2 separate regions of the Homo sapiens genome follow, and region 1 is linked to region 2. Evidence: promoter capture Hi-C in 16 types of primary human blood cells and fetal thymus (Javierre and others, 2016). All regions are on one chromosome and are shown on one strand. The core of a region is centred on a gene start or on the middle of the fragment in contact, and the rest is flanking DNA. Distances in the headings are between cores, read along the strand shown. Region 1 overlaps AKNAD1 (AKNA domain containing 1). Region 2 holds the start of SORT1 (sortilin 1).

The links. Contacts are between HindIII fragments. The CHiCAGO score rates a contact against its expected background, and 5 or more counts as called.
Region 1: a fragment that was not itself captured here is called in contact with the fragment with the promoter of SORT1 in region 2 in 4 of 17 cell types (total CD8 T cells, fetal thymus, naive CD8 T cells and 1 more); the score reaches 7.3 in total CD8 T cells.

The regions. Positions count from the first base shown.
Region 1 is chr1:108,826,868-108,831,398 of GRCh38, forward strand. It overlaps AKNAD1 (AKNA domain containing 1), which reads right to left. Exons shown (of 16, transcript NM_152763.5): 10 at 3,692-3,783; 11 at 338-435. All of the region lies in intron 2 of LOC105378891 (a long non-coding RNA gene), which reads left to right. Among named protein-coding and RNA genes, the nearest start is that of AKNAD1, 28 kb to the right of the region's middle. The HindIII fragment of the contact is 371 bases long and covers 2,645-3,015 here.
Region 2 is chr1:109,395,552-109,400,254 of GRCh38, forward strand. It overlaps SORT1 (sortilin 1), which reads right to left and starts at 2,367. Exons shown (of 20, transcript NM_002959.7): 1 at 2,036-2,367. The coding sequence starts at 2,341. It overlaps PSMA5 (proteasome 20S subunit alpha 5), which reads right to left. Exons shown (of 9, transcript NM_002790.4): 9 at 3,491-4,703. RefSeq lists silencers at 2,144-2,243, 2,254-2,323, 2,364-2,493 and an enhancer at 2,520-3,501. The HindIII fragment of the contact is 10,275 bases long and covers 1-3,394 here.

The DNA.
Region 1 (4,531 bases), core at 1,580-4,079, 570 kb before region 2:
TAGCTGGGACTACAGGCGTGAGCCACCACACCTGGCTAATTTTTGTATTTTTTTTGTACAGATGGAATGTCACCATGTTGGCCAGGCTGGTCTTGAACTCCTGAGCTCAAGTGATCCACCCGCCTCAGCCTCCCAAAGTGCTGGAATTACAGGCATGAGCCCCCATGCCCAGCCTATTAATTCTTTACATTTTGCAAATAAATAAATACAACATGCAACATCCTAGTGTAGGGAAATGCTCTTGGAGTGGCAGATGGCAAGCTGGTGCCTACTGCGAGCAGACCCCATGGGGAGGGACACTGAAAAATGAGCACCCAGCCCAAGCCCATCAACTTACTGGGAGTTGAATCTGAGTGTGGTGCCTTTTCATGAAGGACAATTGAAAATCTTCCACAGTTGATCCTTCCGTGGCCCTTTTTCTCCACGTTTTGCTTCCTAAAAAAAGGTGCATAAGATCCTGTAAACTTTTAGTGCATTTCCAATAGATAGGGAAAGTTTTGGTAAAGTTGAAACGTTAAATTTTGTTATATTAGAGCCTGGAACAGTGTAGGAGGGGCTTGTCATCCTCTACACAGAGCTCTCCTCTGCCTGCCTGTTTGAGAGCTTTTCTACAAGAAATTGCACCCCAGCACAATTTGGCCTGATAAGAAAATGTATACAAGACAGGCCAGGCGCGGTGGCTCACGCCTGTAATCCCAGCACTTTGGGAGGCTGAGGCGGGCGGATCACGAGGTCAGGAGATCGAGACCATCCTGGCTAACACGGTGAAACCCTGTCTCTACTAAAAGTACAAAAAATTAGCTGGGCGCCGTAGTGGGTGCCTGTAGTCCCAGCTACTCGGGAGGCTGAGGCAGGAGAATGGCGGGAACCCGGGAGGCGGAGCTTGCAGTGAGCCGAGATCGCGCCACTGCACTCCAGCCTGGGTGACAGAGCGAGACTCCTACTCAAAAAAAAAAAAAAGAAAATGTATACAAGACATGAAAAATAAATGTTTTGTTCTGCCGAGGTTAATATCTAATCATCACATACACATTCACAAAACACATTTGAAGTATGGAATTATAAAATTTGGAGTTTTCCTCATGCATCAAAATCCATTCCAGGCTGGGTATGGTGGCTCATGCCTGTAATCCCAGCACTTTGGGAGGCCAAGGAGGGTGGATGGCTTGAGACTAGGAGTTCAAGGTCAGCCAGGGCAACATGGCAAAACCTCATCTCAAAAACAAACAAACAAACAAACAAACAAACAAACAGTTCCTACCAGGGGAAGAAACTATGCTATACGTCAGTAATGGGTCACGTAGCTTTGGTCCTGGAAGTACAAGCTGATTACATCCAACAACTCCAGCAAAGTGGGCTTTGCCGGGTGTCTGTGGGACTAAAGGCTGAGGGAGCACGTGAAGGTGATTTTAGTTGCACATGGCCACCAGGTGGCGTCAGAAAGAAGCAACTGCAATGGACATTGTTCAGGAGCCTTCCTGTGGCCCACCTGCAGCTTCCTCCCTCCTCCTCAGAAATCCCAACTCCTCCAAAGGAATTCGAATTAATAACAGTTCTGAACAAAGCTCTTGCTAAGCTCCTGGGATACAGTCATAGCCCCCAGGGAAAGTTGTTCATTCTTAGTATGGAAGGCACTGTGCCCGAGATATCCTGGCATAAATGAGGCAGATTGCCCAGGGCTAGGGTTTGAGCCCAAGGCATTGCTGGGCAAACACATGCTCGCCGCGCTGTGCCCTGGCCTGCTGTTGGCGGAGAAGGGATGGGGCTGCGGGTTTGTGGGGCTGGGGCTGAGAAGCCAGGCTCTTTCCCTCCTCTTGGAAAAACATGCTGTCCTCTTGAGTCACATATTTTCTCACACCTCATTTTCTGTCTCCACCCTTCTCCTCTGGGGCATTTGAACATCTGCTCTCCAAAGTGGGAAACTTGGATCTCACTCAAGTGCATGCAGTCCAACACAGGACTTTTTCTGCTTTTAAACTCCTTTGTGTACTCAAATCTTCTGGCCAAACATAATTCCTCTGGAGAAGACAGTTTTTCAACAAGACAAAGCAGCTAAAGTACACACTTAAATCCAAAGTTTTGCATCAGAAATAACATAAAGGGATAAGCATATTTTACATTTTATACATATGTAATTTATCCACTTATATATAAACAATTTACAAATATCCTGAAAACAGTATGTACCTCAGCAAGCTTCATAAAGGACAAGTCCCATCAGAGAGAGATTTAATCTTCTAACAGAAAGAATATATAGTCCTCCCTTCAATCAATAATTCCTCAGGGATTATGTAAGTTACAAGATTTTAATTCATAAGTCATGTGTATCTTCTCATCACTCCCCAGCAGTGGATTCACTGTGAGATTTGATTTTACACTTGGTTGTGCTTGTCTTTCCAGCTTGTCTATCATAAAAAAGTATTATTTAGTCTGGAACATTGGTCCCTGTCTTGGTACTTAATGTACTTCTGTAGGGTCTAGACTAGGAATTTAGAAGAGAGAAATTTAGTACCTTGAGTGCTTAATAAAAATGGTTCTTTAATGTCAAAATACTTTCATTATACTTAGTAAAACCTTTAAAAATCCAAAATTAGACTTTAATTCAATAAATAAAAATAGTAGGCCTGGGATGACTCAGTGAGTAAGCTTCATGAGTGCCCCTTGGATTAAAGGGCAGCTCAAAGCTGATGACTGACATGGTGGTTTAATGACCCACACACAATGACACATGACCATTTTTAGCACGAGCTTCATGCAGTTTCTTTTTTCAGGGGTGGACACTCATTAGAACTCTTAAGGCAGGTGCCCATTCCCACAATGGAATGCTTTCTAACAGGAAGCCTCAGTCTTTCAGACCCTGTCATCTGCTTCTATTAGAATCCATTACGTACATATAACAGTGGTTGCTAAACACCTGCTGCCTCCCTGACTCTTGACCTTCCAAAGGTCAATGAGCCGAGCTTTGGCCGGAGTCCACAGTGAGCTTAGAGGTAACATCTCTCGCTACCTGAAAGAAGCTTCAAATAAATGATACTGAATCGACACAGATTAATAGTTGCACCAATGGGTGTTTCAAAAACAAAGGATTTCTCCTGAGGATTTTACATGATTTACAGCTTGTTAGCTCTGGAAGATTTCGTCCTTAGGAATGGGAAGAAATCAGCCCTGAGAAGAGGGATGAGGCTTGTTCCTGGGACTGGGGGGCTCAGGTGAAACCCAACAGAGAAGACTTTTGCTCATCATAAGGAGAGAGTAGGGATGGTGGGAGCTGTTTGTTATACAGGATAAGAATCCCCCATGTGGGCAATGATCAAAAGCCTACAGGACCACCCTCCGTGGGCTGTAACCATGATTCTTAACCAAGGGGGCTTATCGGAATCACCTGGGGAGATTTAAAAGCAATATTCCTACCAGAGCCCCACCGCTGGCGATGCTGAGACAGTAGGTGGGATGGAGGCATGTGCATGATTGTAAAATCTCCCATGGTGATTTTGATGGTCTCCCCAGTTGAGGACCACTGCTAGAGGATCTGTAGGGTGCGAGGGAGGCTGGGCTCTGTGCCCAGGCCTGAGATCTGTGACTCTATAACTCAGCCAGTGGCCTCAGTTAGTTGCCGCCCACTCTCACTGGAGTTACTATGCCAGGACTGACTCCAATCCACCCTGGGAATGTAGCCACAAGAAGCCCTCACCATTCAAGGAGCCTGCGACAGAAGGCACAGCTCGGACTGGGTGCCGTCATCTCTGCACAATCCTGCCTTCTTGGAGTGCCGTTGGGATCCTCCTGCGCCACAAAGCACACAGATGGAGATGTGATAGAGGATGTGACTCACGCCGCGGCTGCACACGCACAGCCCAGCAAGCAGCTGAGGTCCGGCTGAACTTGCCACCTCAGGCAGAGAGACTCGCCAAACCTCTCCTCCAGTTGGGGAAAGGGAGGCGCAGGGGGACAGGAGGGAAAGAAGAAAGAGCCCATCCTTAGTTCTGATGTGTCACTCAGTCGGGGCTGCGCCTCTAATGGCCTGGGCTGAAGAATGGAAGTTTCCACCCTGGCTTGCTTCCTTCCTCCTCTAAACAGATTTTAAAATCTGGTGTACAGATGACAGAATACTCTCCCCTTTTTATCTTTCCCTTAGTTTCAAATTACTCCAAGCTTCGCCAGATAATGAACAGATTTAGGAACATAATTTTTAGATCTATTAATCTGACCGCTGGCTAGTAGAGCTCTAAAAGCCTTTCTAAATAAATATATTCAACTATGAATTAAAACAGGGTTTAGGGACTGTCTGGGGGCCTAAATGATTGGTTATATGTCCCTCTTTAACACAAAACAATTACTCCACTGACCTGTGAGGGCTGTTACCACCCACTGTGTATTTTTGACTAAGGTCTTACCCTTTATGTAAGTAAAAAATAAATGTACTTTTCCCATCATTATAAACAATGGCAGAAGCATCATTGTACACATAGCTTTTTCCACATCTTGGATTACTTCCTGAGGAAATGTCTGGGCCAAAGGTTGCGAACATGTT
Region 2 (4,703 bases), core at 1,117-3,616:
AAAAGACTGGGAGAGAAAAACTAAAAAAAAATTATTGCAAACAGCTAAATGAAAGAAATAGAAGAAAATTTCTTTACATGTGGACTTCAAAGAATGAGTGGTTTTAGGTCTACTCTTCCACAGATTTGGCCTTAGAACCCCTGAGCCAGTTTTTTCAACCTCTTTCTTTGGAATCAATATATTACAAATGACACATCAATTCAAACTAACCAGGAAGACTCTGACTCAAGGAATAAATCCAGGCAGGGCATAGTGGCTCACGCCTCTAATCTCAGCACTGTGGCAGGCTAAGGTGGGTGGAGCACTTGAGCCCAGGAGTTCAAGACCAGCCTGGGGAACATGGCAAAACCCTGTTTCTTAAAAAAAGAAAGAAAGAAAGAAAAGAACAATTAGCTGGGTGCATGTACCAGTAGTCCCGGCTACTTGGGAGGCTGAGGTGAGAGGATCACTTGAGCCCAGGAGGTCAGGGCTGCAGTGAGCTGTGATCACACCACTGCATTCCAGCCTGGGCAACAGAGTGAGACCCTATCTCAAAAAAAAAATAGTAATTACACAAAAATTAGCTAGGCATAGTGGTGCACACCTGTAGTCCCAGCTACTCAGGAGGCTGAGGTAAGACTCTATCTCACAAAAAAAGAGAAAAAGAAAAACAGGAGTAAATCTAAATCCAGGAGTAGCAGCAGACCTAAAGTTAGGTCAACCAGCGAGAGAAGAATTTGAAATATGGAGCAAGAATGCTGTGACCAGCTAGCTCAAGGAAGGAAGTGGTCCAGTATAAATTAAGCATTAGTGTTGTAAAGCCTTTCTCAATCCCCCACTGTGAGAAGGAAGTCTATTCGATTTTTTTTTCTCATCAAGTAGGAAGACTTCCCAGTACTCATTCTACCCAACCTGTCTCACCCTCCAGCACTAGCTTGGCTACCTTTACACAGCTGCTGCTCGGGATACACTAAGCACAATTATTCCTGAATATTTGTGTCTTGTGTCCTCAGATCAGAGAATTCTATTACAGGTAACAAGTATGGTCCAGATAACCAGGCAGTCCAAAGGGAGACTGAGGCTTGGCTGACGCTGAAAAACGGTTACAGAAGGACAAGTGCTGGCACAGAGCCTTGGCCACCCATCTCTGCCCCCAAGTGCAATTCATTTTCTTTGAAAGAGGAAAACAGGCAAGGGAGAAAATATATAGAATTGAAAATACATTATGCAAATGTGGCTAGCAAGGATTAAATTGTTAATTTTAGAGAAATAGGAGAAAGATGCCCAAGTTGTGCTGAAGCAAGGAACCAGGACTTTCTTAATAATTAGTTTTGTCAGTCCAGTAGTGTGCAAAGGTTGAGCTGCTTGTCCCCAGGGACAGAAATCCCATAATTTTGAAAGTCTTTTGACCAAGAGCTGGCTCAAAGCAGAATATGTGCAATGCGTTTCTTAACTATTGAAAATCTTGTCACCACGGGATATAGACATGCTAGTCAGACTTCCGTACCATGACAGAAGGTCAAATCTGAAGCAGTAAAAGAGATCACATAAATATTGCCATCTCATTTCCAAGCTAGTCCCCTTAACTATTAAAACACGGTGACCAGATCGCTGCTTCGGGCCTCCTGAACTCCCGCCTCTCCCACCCGGAAAGTACTGACCCAGAGAGGACACACCTTTGCTTCTGCGCAGCCCAACTTCTGCAAGCGCTCAAGAGTTAATTACTCCTTCACCTTCCTGGGGCCTAACAGCGTTACTGGGTCCTGATTATTTATACAGACGAAAAACGATGTTCAAGAGATTTTGACAACTTAAAAAAAAAAAAAAGAATGCGGTGGAAGTCTAAGATTGCCTCCCCTATGACAAAACACAGCCCCGCCGGCCGCCCGGGCCCGACTCCGCCCGCCCGCCCGCCGCAGTTTCGGGGCTGCGGCCCGGGGGACGCGGGCGCGGCAGGGCTGGGGTCTCCTCCGGGAGTCGCGGGGCGCACGGGCCGGGAGGGGCACGCGGGCGGCACCTCGCACCCGAGCGGCTCCCGGGCCCGGCGCCCGCTCACCTGGTGCGTGTTGTTGGCCAGCTTGGCGACGAAGTCCCGGACCCGGCCGCACTCCTCGTCCTCGCCCGGCGCGCTGCGACGCCAACGGCCGCCGCGGGGAAACGCGCCCCCGGCTGCGGCCGCCCGCAGCCCCCAGCTCACCCCGATGGGGCCAGACCAGCGCGGCAGCGGCGCAGCGGGCGGCGGCGGCGCGTCCAGCCGGTCCTGGCTGAGGGTCGACGGCGGCAGCAGCTGCAGGAGGAGGAGGAGGCCGAGGCCATGGGGCCAGCGCGAGAGGCCGTCCGCAGCTCCCCAGGGCCGCTCCATCGCCGCCGAATGCCGCCGACGCCGACACCTGCCGCCCGGCGCGCCCGCCCACCCCCGCCGGCGCGCGCCACACCCCCGAGCCGAGCGCGGCGCTCCTTGGATACGCGCGGCCGGGCCTCTCCGCCCCATAGGCTGGCCGCCTGTCCCTCTTCCCCGGCCCACTCCTCATTGGCTCGCGTCGCCTCCGGCTTCGGGGGTCCTGGATTCGGATGCTAAGATGCGGGACTGATTGGCTGGAACGGGGCAGAGACTGCTGAGGTCAACCCCGCCTCGCCCGGCGTCTCCCGGGCCCGGCTTGTGGAGTTCACGTAGGAGCTTCTCATACCTTCCCGCCGAGCCCCGGGCTCCTGGCGTCGCGACCCCTTGCCGCACCTCTAGCGCCCTCAAGTTGGGGCTGGGTTACGTCCCTCCTGTTCCCCAGAGACACTCCTAAAATTCCTTCGGTGAGGCAGAGCCTGGAAAAACCTACCCAGGAAATCCCTGAGCTTGCTCAGCTGGAAAAGGGGGCTCCATCATGAACCGGGGCTTCGGGTTTTTATAAACCCCGCTCACTGGAGCGCCCATTGTCTGCTAAGCAGCTGCCTTGCTGCAAGAAGGTGAATGCGAACTGATGTGGGCCACATCCTACGGAGACAGACATCAGGACATCCGTGACTCCTGCAAGCCTGAAGAATAGTCTTTCCATACGTTTGGCCTCTCTCACCTTCCTCTTCTGAGGGGAGGTAGGCCAAAGGCGGAATTACTTACAGGTTTTCCAGGACTTCGAATGTAGCTTAGGCATTAGGGGCAGGTAAAAGAGGGGCAAGAGAATGATCCAATGCCTACTGTACACATGATCATTTCCTAGATGCACATTTATTTTACCAAAGTGCCTTAACTCTGCAGTGAGAGCTTCGGACAAGTTTGGTTCCAGTATGTGATGTCCTCTAAATTAGCACCCCGATCCACCTCTAATGAATAAAATAAAACCCCTACGCTGTTCCCTTTACCGCAGAAGCTGCACACACAACTTCTACAACACGTAGCACAGGTAAAACCAGTTCTGAATCCTTAAGCTTACTGACTCCATCCCTTCAGAAAGCTAGAAATTGTTCAGTAGAAAAGGTAGCAAATAGAAAGATACAAAATATGCAAGTCATTACACTCAAAGCAAGTAAAGATTACTTTTAATTATAAACTGGCCATAAACCCAAATGAGGATATAGTCATTGTAGAGCAAAATGATACAATGCACCCAACCCGATATTTACATTAAAATATTTCCAGTCACATTAACTTTCAAACAAAAAGACTTAACGAATTTACAAATTTTTCCAAGACGTGAGAAGTGAAAAATGTTTTTGAATGCCATCTGAGCAGGATAGTAAAATCACTAGAATAGTCTTTTTAAGTTCTCAGTTACTGGACTGAAAAGATAAAGCTGATGAAAATTGGTGAACAATTTGTTCCTTTCCATAACTACTATCAGATTAATTTAAAAAAGATTATTTTTAAATCTATGCCAACTATGGGAGTAGATCACAAGACAGTCAGTTCCAGTAGCATGTGATTAGGTGGGGGGAGGAAAGGGGGTTATAAAGGAATATTTCTTTGTTTGGGTGACACAAAGATGAATGGTCTATTGTCTTACTGTCTGAAAAGAAAAAACAACTCAACAGTGCCACCTCCTGGAGAAATTACCAAATACACTTTTAAACGCTATTAAATTTGTTCCAATTATCTGTACCTTCACTTTTTAGTATGTTGCTTTTAGTTATCACAGGCTTACAGTACTTATATATTTCCTTCTTCAAACTGTATCAGCTTCTGGGACATGGTAACTTGCATATGGCACTGAGAAAATGTTTGAGTGAATATATTTATTATTTCACTTTTTAAATTGGAAACCCTAGGAACTATATTTCATTTTTGTCTAATGAGATTGACATTAAATATAAAAGTGGCACTGTCAGTTCTCCTTTGTGAGATACTGGACATAAGATTTCACCTTATTTGCAGGACTAAAGTAAATTTATCTTATTACTAAAAACCGTACCTTTCTCCAGGAAACATTCTATAGCAGAAAGATAACATAAAGCAATTACACATCATGAAACCATTGCTGTTCGTAGTAAGATCACTTCTTTAACCTAAGAAAGCTTGTTTTAATATTCTACAAAAAAATCAAAGTTCTACCTCTTTGAAGAATGCCAATTATAGAAGGTACGAAATTTACTGTTTTACCAGGTAAAACACAAATATGCTGCCCAGCCAGTGGGAGGGAAAACAACTTAAGCTGAGGCGAACGGACATAGGCTAAGAGCTACTCCTTAGTATTTGGGCATTTTTCCCCCTATGAAATGCATGTGATTCAGAGACACAA